Regions from separate parts of the Homo sapiens genome. Here region 2 is linked to region 1. The links are contacts of gene promoters, found by promoter capture Hi-C in blood cells and fetal thymus (Javierre and others, 2016). All regions are on one chromosome and are shown on one strand. Each heading gives the region's core, a stretch centred on a gene start or on the middle of the fragment in contact. The rest is flanking DNA. Distances are from core to core; before and after follow the strand shown. Region 1 holds the start of INSIG2 (insulin induced gene 2). Region 2 has its middle 22 kb from the start of EN1.

Region 1 (5,430 bases), core at 45-2,544:
AAAACTATTATGCAATTACTCTCGGCCCAGATTTCATCTAGAACATTCAAGTCCATTGTAATCTTACCACATCCATACACGTTTTGGGTTAAGCCACCTCCAAATGGAATAGCTCAATAACTAATACACTCAAGAGAGATTATTTTTTCTCTCTTTTTAAAAAGAGTTGCTTAAAAAAAACAAATTCAGGGGGCAGCTCACGCCTGTAATCCCAGCACTTTGGGAGGATGAGGCGGGCGAATCACGAGGTCAGGAGTTTGAGACCAGCCTGGCCAATATGATGAAACTCCATCTCTACTAAAAATACAAAAAGTAGGCAGACATGGTGGCATGTACCTGTAGTCCCAGCTACTGGGGAGGCTGAGGCAGAAGAATCACTTGAACCCGGGAGGCAGAGGTTGCAGTGAGCCGAGATCATGCCAGTGCACTCCAGCCTGGGTGACAGAGAGAGACTCCGTCTCAAATAAATAAATAAATAAAAATAAATAAAAATTCAGAATAGGGAAGCAACTCCTCCTTATGACGAGTACCTTTCGGCACTTATATGGGCTTGCTTTTGCATTGATGGCACCACTTTCATTCAAAAAAAAAAGTTCGCTTGCACAATCTGCAAAGATCTGTTTGGCTTGGTTTCATGTTCTAAAAGTATGGTTTTAGATTAAATGAAAAATAATACTTCTGAAAAATAAGCGGTTATAAGGTTTTTAAGTTTTCTTTATGTTGGTGTAAACTTATAAAGCCCTTCCTATGAAAACTGTCCCCCAAATCACATTACTTGGTCGTCCTCGAGGAACGATTTTGAATGAAAAGCACATAAAGTGCTGTAGCATGGAGACGAGAGACAAATAACTATGCCCTTCTCCCAAAATAAGTTATGACTTACTAGGGGAGGAAAAGGAGCAAAGAGTATAAAGCCCGGTCCTCTGCGGGAAGTACCCGGAGGCCTGCCCCGGAACGCGCTCCTTTCGGCTACGAGATGAGGGGCACGCAGACGGACGCGCCCCTCGGTGAGTGTGCGTGTATCAGTGCATGATTCCTTTACTCCGCCCACAGGGTCTGGGCATCCGTCATTACCTACGGCTGCCTGGTCAGCAAACAACAGCAGATCCGACAACCGCCAGTCACCTCGACGGTCCACGCCCACCGCTAGCCTCCAGTTTCCCGCAGACCGGAAGCCCTTTTGCCCCGGCTCGCAGGTCCACGTCTTATTGACAGCAGGAACCGGAAGCTCTTCTGCCCCGATCGCCTGCGCGCGGCCTCGTTGGCCGCACAGGCGCAGTGGAGCTCGGGCGGAGTTGTGGGAGTGGAGGAGGAAGAGGCGGTAGGGGGTACGGGGGCTGGTCCCAGAAGATGGCGGAGGCGGGGGTGAGTTGGGGGTCTCCCGGCGAAGCGCGGGTGACGTGGTGCTGAGGAAAGCGGCCTGAGGAGGAGGGTGGCCCTTGGGAAGAAGAACTACTTGTGTTTTTGCAGCCTGGGAACCCTGGTGGCAGGTGCGGGGAGCCAGGACCACTGATGGGCCTGCAGGGCAAGGGGCTCCGCTTACCTGAGAGGGGTCCGCAAGGTCCAGAAGGGGACTGCGGGATCGGGGAGGGGGTATAGGAGGGGTCGAGGCTCCCCGGACAGTGGATGAGTGTCTGAGCGGGAAGAAGGCTGGAGGACGGCGAGAAGGGCGACCCAATGGTCTGATGAGGTGGAGGTCAGCGAGCTGTCAAGCATAGAGCTGCCAGGACTTGGGGGCTTGTAGCCTGGGAGAGAAGACTCAGACTTGGGCGGGGATTGGATCCAAAGAAGACAGGTTGTCGTAGTAAGTTTATAATCCACTAAGGAGATAGGGCATTGGGTTGAGGAGTAATACTCTGGCATTTTTGACTGGAATTGGTTACCTATGGAATAGGTGTTTCGGTAAAGCCAAATAATTCTTGCCAGGGCCTAGAAGTGGATTTGATGATAATTACTAGATTTTAGGGTTGCTTAGTGGGGATTGGCAATATGGAGAAGGAAAGCAGTGTGGATTATGGGAGTGGGCGCGGGCAATGGCGCTAACACTTAAGTGATAATGACCCATGTCCAGTTAACGTTGGAAAAAGTTGTTAAAGTATGATATTAGCTAGATGCTCTAGGAAAATATACCATGAAGAACTTGCTGTTTTGTAGGATTGATGAAGAAATGCTTTAAAAAGGAATGGTTAGGCTTGGCAGCTGGGCCACTGAAACTGTTTGGTATCAGTATTGCGGTGGAGCTGAGGACTGCAGGGGAATGCGTGCTCCCGTCCTGGTGCAGAAAAAATAAAAGCAGCCAGACAGTAGCTAGATGGTGTTTTGTAACTTTTGGGTTTGGCCCTGATAGTGAACCACTGAATGAAGATGGATGAAGGGAATGCTACTAATGGGGGCCCCAAAGAAAACAAAAATCAGACGTGTGCTCTTCCTGTTTTCTGTCTTTCATTCTTTCCCTGTACTTTGTGCTCAGTACTGTGTTTTGTCATTGTGTTATGTCGTAGTTCTCAGTTCACATCTGCTGTACAGTGACCAAGCTGTGAATCATGTCCACTCGGGAAAGAGGTTGATTCTGTTTAACTGACAACTGTTGCTTTTGCAGATGGTCACACGGAAAAGGAAAGAATAAAATGCAGTTCAGTAGTTTAAAGAGTTTTCTTTGTTCTCAGAAACTTATCTCGAAACGATGGAGTAACTTTTTTAGGCACTGAGATGTGACATTTAAAACCTGTAAGGGGCTGTAAATGCAGCTAACTTACTGGTTTCTATGTTTGGGTTTTAATGTTGAGAGGAAAGAGTTGCAGTGTTTATAAGGCAAATATTGCTTTTCTTCCTAGAAATTTTTAACGTCTCTAGCCCATGATACATGTAGATGTGTTTTTATTTAGGGAGCATTAAACTGTTGCATTGATTTAAGTCTGTTTTTTTCTAATGTTAGTGCTTATTCTATTTCAAGAATGCTATTCTAATTAAGAGAGCATATGATGAAAAATATGTGAGGTAGTAATTTAACTTTATTATTTAGTAGCTTACGTGACCTAAGCACCTGAAGAAACAGGGTTATCTGAGGGAGTAAAAATACTTCTTTTACGGCTAATCATTGGAAGAGGAATGGTCTTGTCATTTGGTTTTAGGGGGTGTTGCAGTTGTTACAATGCAACAGGTTCTTAAGGTTACTAGAAGATTTTGTATGTGTGTTTGTTTTCAAATGCTTGTTGCCTCTAAGTTGTTTCAGTGGCCAACATGAACCTTGATTTTTATTCACGAAGCTCATAATCACTTATAACTCTTTTTTAACCTGAAAGTAATAATATCAATCCATTAATAGGCAGCCATACACCTGGAATAATGTTTTTCCAGTATTGATGATTCATCATTGATCTATGCAAATTATTTCAACTTTTTTTCTTTTTGTTTAGTATTGTACTTTCCAGAAATTTTAGGCCAGGGCTCAGCGTAGAATTTTTCAAGTCTGGTGGAAAGTTTTTCTTTGTGAATTGTTGAAAACATTATTTTGGTATTAATAGTAGTTTACCAACATGATTTTAAAAACGGTTTCTTGTGTGGCACTTAAATTGTTTTGTACCATGTTTGTGAATGGAAGCAGTGTGGTGAAGCAGGAAGAACTCCGGACATGGGGTCAGAGTGGGTGAGCCTAGTCCTGGTGCTACCTGGTAACAGTTCTGTGATCTTGGAAAGTTACTTAACCTATTTTATTTTGTAAAATGGAAACTAACAACACCTGCCTATTTACCAAGATTGTTTTCGAGAATCTATTGACATATTGTCCTTTAAACAGTATCTTTATACCAGAGACTTTTTCCCTGGTCAGCAAATTATTTGTCAAGTAATCTAAATTTTTCAAATATAGATTTTTAAAAAAAATTTTGGAGCATCAAGTTTATCATTAATGTAAGACTAATATTTAAAGATATAGATCCACTTTGTTTTAAGAAAATGGTATCAGTACAAAATCAGAAAAACAAACTTCAAAGTAAACTAAGGGAGCTTACTTTCCCTTGAAAATAACCCACTCCTCTGACTCCTCTAGTGTGCAACTGATATTATAAACATGCTTTTAAAGGAATTTCATTGTTGCATGGTAGGGGGTGAAATGGTTTTGTGGACGCCTCTATCCCTTTGATGAGTCTGGTCATTTTCTGGCATTCACTATACACGTTTGTGGTAATAAGAACTGATGGTACTGTCTTAATCTTGTTAATCCAGTTGACTACTTTGCATGTCATTGGCCTTGCTAATAGAGTGAGAGAATTGTTAGATTACTGATTCTTTACTTTGTTTGGATCATGGACTTTTTTGAGTACTTTATATAAATTATGGAACTTTCATCCCAGAAAAAAATGCATATATATACAACTTTTTTGTTTTGTTTCGCATGGGGGTCTCATACCCCTTGGAATAGATGATTTCCCAGTTCCCTGCTATTTCTTAAAGCTTTTATTTTTTGTCACCAGTAATTATATACTATTGTATTATGATGTAGTTACAAAATTAGCTTTTTGAATCTCATTCAAATAAATGTCAAGCAAATGTGTTATTTTTAAGGAAAACTTTTGGGGCGAAGTAGAAAACTAAACAAGCACTGCCAGGAAAGGTTAAATAAGCAGCTGTGGTAGAAAACATAAATAAACAGAAAGTCTCTAGCTGTCTTGAAATAGAATGAAGTCTGTAGCAATCAGTGGCTCTCATTGTGGGGACAGTTTTGGTTATCACAAATAGGGGAGGGGGCATTTAGTGGGTGGGAGCCAGGGATGCTAAATGTTTTGCAATGCTTAGAACAGTCTCACACAGCAAATAATTGTCCTGCCTAAAATATCAGTGCCCTTTGACAAATGCTGGTCAGTGTGAGATGGGGGCTAGCATGACTGAAATAGCTTTTTTAAACTGAAGTTATTTTCCTTTTTAAAAATACTATTAAACATAAAATACCCCTTTCCATTAATTCCCTTTTGGAAAAATCACAAACAGAAACAAATGATACGCTGTCTCAATGTGGGTTACTCAAAGTATGCCCATCTTCTAGCAGCTGTTAGCAGCACGTGAGGGCAACGTGCTGTGTCTACTGGGATCTGGGGAAGTAAAGAGTCAACTAATGTTCTTATACAGAGTGTTAGTTTGCTATTTTTTCTTTTTACTTTAAAACATTTTCACACCTTGATCTAGTACTATTAAAGAAAATTTCAAGGTGATTTTACATTTATTCTCATCATCTTTGTGCAATTGTATAGTCACCTGCTTGTTTTGGCTTACTATCTGAGAGTGTATTATAGTTGAGATGGTATTTCAACATCTAACCATCTTTTCAGTAACCAAACACTTTTATATAGAACCATCTGCCGAAAAAGAAGTCTGAGCAGTTGAGATGGAATGGAATTCAAGGTATAGAGGCAAGAGGATGGGTTTTGGAATCAG
Region 2 (5,623 bases), core at 2,673-5,172, 780 kb after region 1:
GTGATCCTCCTGCCTCAGCCTCTGGAGTAGCTGGGACTACAGCCACACACCAACATTTCCAGCTAATTTTCGTGTTTTTTTTTTGTTTTTTTTTTTGTAGAGACGGGGTTTCACCATGTTGCGCAGACTGGTCTTGAACTCCCGGGCTCAAGCGATCTACCCACCTTGGCCTCCCAAAGTGCTGAGATTACAGTTGTGAGCCACCATGCCTGGTCTTCTTTGCCTTTTAAAAACTGGTTTTATTACATGTTGTTTAGTTTAACTTGTATTTGAGTTTCATAAAAAATGATATTCTATGGTCGATGGGACTAGATTTTTCACTAAGTATTACTTCTCCAAGATTCGTCACTGTTGCATGCATGTAACAGGGCTTGAGTCAGGTTATCAGCTGTATAAGAGTTCATTGCTGGAATAAATCTCATTTTATTTATCTATCCCCTTGTCAGTGGACATTTGGGTTGTTCCTAGCTCTTTACTTCTGTGAACATTCTTGTTTTTGTCTCTTGGTATACATGTGTAAAAATATCTCTAGAACACAGTAAAAAGATTGGTGGTTGCCAGGGGCTTGGAAAGTGGTGGTGAATAGGTGAAGCCCAGGGAATTTTTAGGGCAGTAAAACTATTCTGATATATATATATATACATACACACAACATATATATAAAATATATATATAACATTATATATAATATATAATATATTATTATATATAATATATATAACATTATATATAGTATATATGACATATATAACATATATTATATATAACATATATAAAATATAACATATTATATATAACATATATAAAATATAACATATATTATATATAACATATATAAAATATAACATATATTATATATAACATGTATAAAATATAACATATATTATATATAACATGTATAAAATATAACATATATTATATAACATGTATAAACTATAACATATATTATATATAAAATATATTATATGTTATATATTATAAATAAAATATATTATATGTTATATATTATAACATATTATATAAATAATATATAATATATAACATATATTATATAAATAATATATAACATATATTATATAAATAATATATAACATAACATATATTATATAACATATAACATATAACATATATTATATATAACATATAACATATAACATATATTATATATAACATATAACATATAACATATATTATATATAACATATAACATATATTATATTATATATAACATATAACATATATTATATTATATATAACATATAACATATATTATATTATATATAACATATAACATATATTATATTATATATAACATATAACATATATTATATTATATATAATATATAACATATATATTATATATAATATATAACATATAACATATATTATATATAATATAATATATAACATATATTATATATAATATAATATATAACATATATTATATATAATATAATATATAACATATATTATATATAATATAATATATAACATATATTATATATAATATAATATATAACATATATTATATATAATATAATATATAACATATATTATATATAATATAATATATAACATATATTATATATAATATAATATATAACATATATAATATATAACATATAGCATATATAATATATAACATATAACATATATTATATATAACATATAACATATATTATATATAACATATAACATATATAATATGTAACATTATATATAACATATATAATATGTAACATTATATATAACATATATAATATGTAACATTATATATAACATATGTTATATATTTCAGCCTCAAGGAAGAGGATACATCCCTACCCACTAAGTGTGGGCTGGGCTGTGCATGATGCGTTTGTTCCCTCCACGGAGTATAGGGGAAAGAGTCACTTTACAGTGTCAAAATCTGACACATACTACCTCAGCTGGGTGATCAAGGTCAGTAGCAACAGTGATAAATCATGTTAGTACATGTCTTTCATATAATGATAAAAATGGCATTTTACCTCAGTGGTCTTCCTCCCCAAAGTCCATAACCCCAGTCTAATCATGAGAAACACATCAAATAGATTCCACAGAGAGACATTCTACAAAACACCTGACCAGTACTGCTCAACTGTCAGGGTCATCAGAAACAGGGGAAGTTTGAGAAACTCTCACAGCCAAGAGAAGCTTAAGGAAATATGTCAAGTAAATGGATGGGATCTTGGAGCAGAAGACTTTAGATAAAAGCTAAGAAAATGTGAATGAACTATGGACTTTAGTTAATCATGTAGCAATATGTAACAAGGGTACCATGCTAAGGTCAATGACAGAGAAAACTGGGTGAGAGAGTCTATGGGAATTCTCTACTGTCTTCTCAATTTCCCTATGAGTTTAAAACTGTTCTAAAAATAAAGCCTGTTAAAATGGTATGGGTTCTAGAAAGTTATAGGTAAAAAGAAAATGATACCTTAAAACTGTCTCTAGATCAGGGTTGGCAAACTTTGTTTGCAAAATATCAGCTAGTAAATATTGTAGGCTTTGAAGCCTTAAGGTGTCTGTTGCGACTACTCAACTCTGCTGTTGTGTGTTACAAGAGCAGCCATATCTTAACAAGTAAGTGTGGCTGACTTCCAATAAAACTTTATTTAGCAAAAACAAAGTCCACAGGCCTCAGTTTGCAAACCCCTGCTCTCATGTATATAAATGAAGTCAAAGTGCTAGGTCACAAATTTCCATCACATTGTGGTGGAAAGCATCAAGTTGTATTGCATCAAATACACATTCATCAGAAACAGCAGAAATGGATTAACATTGAAGTCCATGTCTTGCCCAGAACTTAGCGTTTTTACTACAATTGTGTCTCACTGGGTTATTTTTTACTTCCTTCTTCTGAGAAATGCCTATTTGCAGCTTTTGCTCATTTTCTGCTGGGCTGTCCTTTTTTCTAATGCATTGGCAGGAGTTCTTTATGTATTCTGGATAGTAATCTACCAGCTACAGATGTTGCGTATATTTTCTCCTGGTCTATGGCCTGCCTTTCACTTTTCTTTTGGTGTCTTTTGATGAACAGAGTTAATTTTAATGTCGTCTGGTTTATTAATGTTTCCTTATTGTAGTTAGTGCTTTTTCTCTCTTGTGTTTAAGAAATCATCTCAAACTCAAAGTCAGAAAGATACTCTTCTATATTTTCTTTGAACAGTTTTGAAGTCTTGCCTTTCACCTGTAAATCCTCCGTGTACCTGAGATTTACTGAAAAGTACAGAATATATGGAGGAGGAAGGGATTCGATGTTATGTTTTTCTACGTGGATGCCCAGTAGTCCCATCCCTGTTGCCTCCTCCCATGTTGGTCTGGAGTGCCATCTGCCATGTCACTGAGAGGATTACATTATATAATGCAGGAAATGTGCTTGGCCTAGCCCCCAGCTTCAATTTAGTGAGACTGTGACTCTGAATTCCCCTTCCTTTCCAGGCTCTAGGGGAGCTGGGGCTCACAATCTTCTGCTTTCAATAATGCTTTTCCTAAACATGAAGACCATAATGTAACGAGGGCTTCTGGCTACAGCAAGCTTGCACATCCACCAGTGAACCAGGGTAACAGGACAGCAGCAGAAGGGGTCCTCACCCTCTGAGCACTGCAAAATGAACAGCTCGGCACTCCTCCTGCAGCTCAAACATTTGCTAAAGCACTTTTAAACAGGTCCTCAGTCAAGGACACTGGGAGATGGCAATTAAGTCTTCTTGAGACTCCAGGGGCCCTGGTGGCAGTGGCTGGGAAATCTGACCTGGTGAACAGATAAGAAATGCTTATAATTAGCACATTCAATGTGAAATACATGTGATTGCACAGATTGTAATTTTCCAAACTGTCAAGACAATTCTCCAACAACTCTTCACTCATAAGGAGGCTCAGCATGGCCATTGTATATGCTACTAATTTCCTTGTTTTCATAGAGAGCAGATAGAAACCCCAACTCACCTTGTCTATATGTCCGTCAAATCTAAATTCAAGGAATTGAAATGAATACGGACTTAATCTTACAGATATGTCTTAGATCATTTTCTTATTGAGGTAAAACTTACATTCAATAAAATTTTACAGATCTGAAGTGTCCAGCTTATGAAACTTTTCCGTATATGTACACCTGTATTATTGCCACCTAGATCTGCATATTTAACATTTCCAGCCTCCAGAAAGCTCTCTCATGCCCTTCCTGGTCATGTCTCCCTGCAGAGGTAGCCATTAGTCTGATTTCCATCATGCAGATTAGTTTTGCTTGTATCTGAAGTTCCCGTAAATGGAAGCTTTATCATGTGTACTCTTTTGCATATGGCTTCTTTAGCTCAACATTCTGCCTGAGATTCATCTGGGAGCTTTATGTAGCTAGAGTTTGCTTTTTCAATAGTAAAATGATGAATATGTGATGACACATTGTATGATCCGCCACAATTCATTTTACTATTGATGGACATTTTGGTTGTTTCCAGGTTGGGGCCATTATAAATAAGGCTGCTATGAACTTCAGTGAATATGTGTTTTGGTGCACATGTGTGCTCCTGTATGTTGAGTATAAACCTAGGAGCTGAATCTCTAGATTATGATAGGCATTGGATTTTCTTTCTTCTTTGTTTTGAAAAAAAAAGCAGCTTAATTAAGGTATAATTTATATATAAGAAATCAACCAATTTTAACTTTATAATTTTTGACAAATGTATTCAGTGTCTAAGCATGATGATCATCAAGATAGAGAACTGTTCCATCCCATCCCAAAATTCCTTTGTGCTTCTTTGCAATCACTTTCCCCTTCCCTCAGCCCCTCACAACCTCTGATTTAATTTCTTTCGGTACAGTTTTGCCTTTTCTTGTGCCCAGTTGATGATGAGTCACTCCTGAATCTCTACTGCCAGTTTTGATCTCTCTCCTGAGCTACAAACTTTCATCTCCACCTGCCTCCTAAGTGTCCCCAATGGAGAACTCTAAATGAATGAACCCTAGTGGAACCCAACACCTCTTCCTCCTCCTCCAGCAAAGTTTCCCTCCCTGTGTTCTCTGTCTCCTGAGAGAATCACTCTTAATCCTGGTGGCCAAGCCAGAAAGCTGGTTAGCACTTAATATCGACCTCCTTCCTCTCCCTACCACCCATATCCAATCAATGAGCCCTAGTCAATGCTCTCTAAATATCTCTTGGATCAACCTACTTCTTTCCAGCTCCTCTGTATTAGTTTACCATCGTCTCTGAATTGCCTCAATGTGTCTGACTTTTTGCTTCTTAGCATGAACCCCCACAGTCCATTCTCCACACTAGAGAGGAGCCCTTCTAAAGTGTGAACCTGACCAGGCCACTCTTTAGCATGAAACTTTTCAAGAGCCTCCTGGGACTTGTGGTCACACAGCTGCCTTCACACGAGGCCTCTTCCCTACCTTCATCCCAGCCCCAAACCTGCCTCTGCTGAGCTCTTGAATGTCCTCATGTCCCAGTGAAGAAGTCACTGCTGTGTAAGCTCGGCCTCAACCTGAACAGCAAGTGCAGGTCAAGTCTGACCTGGGCCCCCCCTTTCGTTGTTCCCCTAGCACTTCTTTCTTCACCTCTTCCAGCACTGAATGCAATCACTCTGTCTGTAATTCCATTTATTTT

Evidence for each region. Contacts are between HindIII fragments. The CHiCAGO score rates a contact against its expected background, and 5 or more counts as called.
Region 2: a fragment that was not itself captured here is called in contact with the fragment with the promoter of INSIG2 in region 1 in 2 of 17 cell types (M0 macrophages and total CD4 T cells); the score reaches 5.6 in M0 macrophages.

What each region holds. Positions count from the first base shown.
Region 1 is chr2:118,087,177-118,092,606 of GRCh38, forward strand. It overlaps INSIG2 (insulin induced gene 2), which reads left to right and starts at 1,295. Exons shown (of 6, transcript NM_016133.4): 1 at 1,295-1,365. It overlaps LOC107985940 (a long non-coding RNA gene), which reads right to left and starts at 1,255. Exons shown (of 3, transcript XR_001739662.3): 1 at 1,075-1,255. RefSeq lists enhancers at 1,000-1,049, 1,060-1,249. The HindIII fragment of the contact is 7,859 bases long and covers 1-4,450 here.
Region 2 is chr2:118,866,428-118,872,050 of GRCh38, forward strand. No RefSeq gene overlaps it. Among named protein-coding and RNA genes, the nearest start is that of EN1, 22 kb to the left of the region's middle. The HindIII fragment of the contact is 736 bases long and covers 3,555-4,290 here.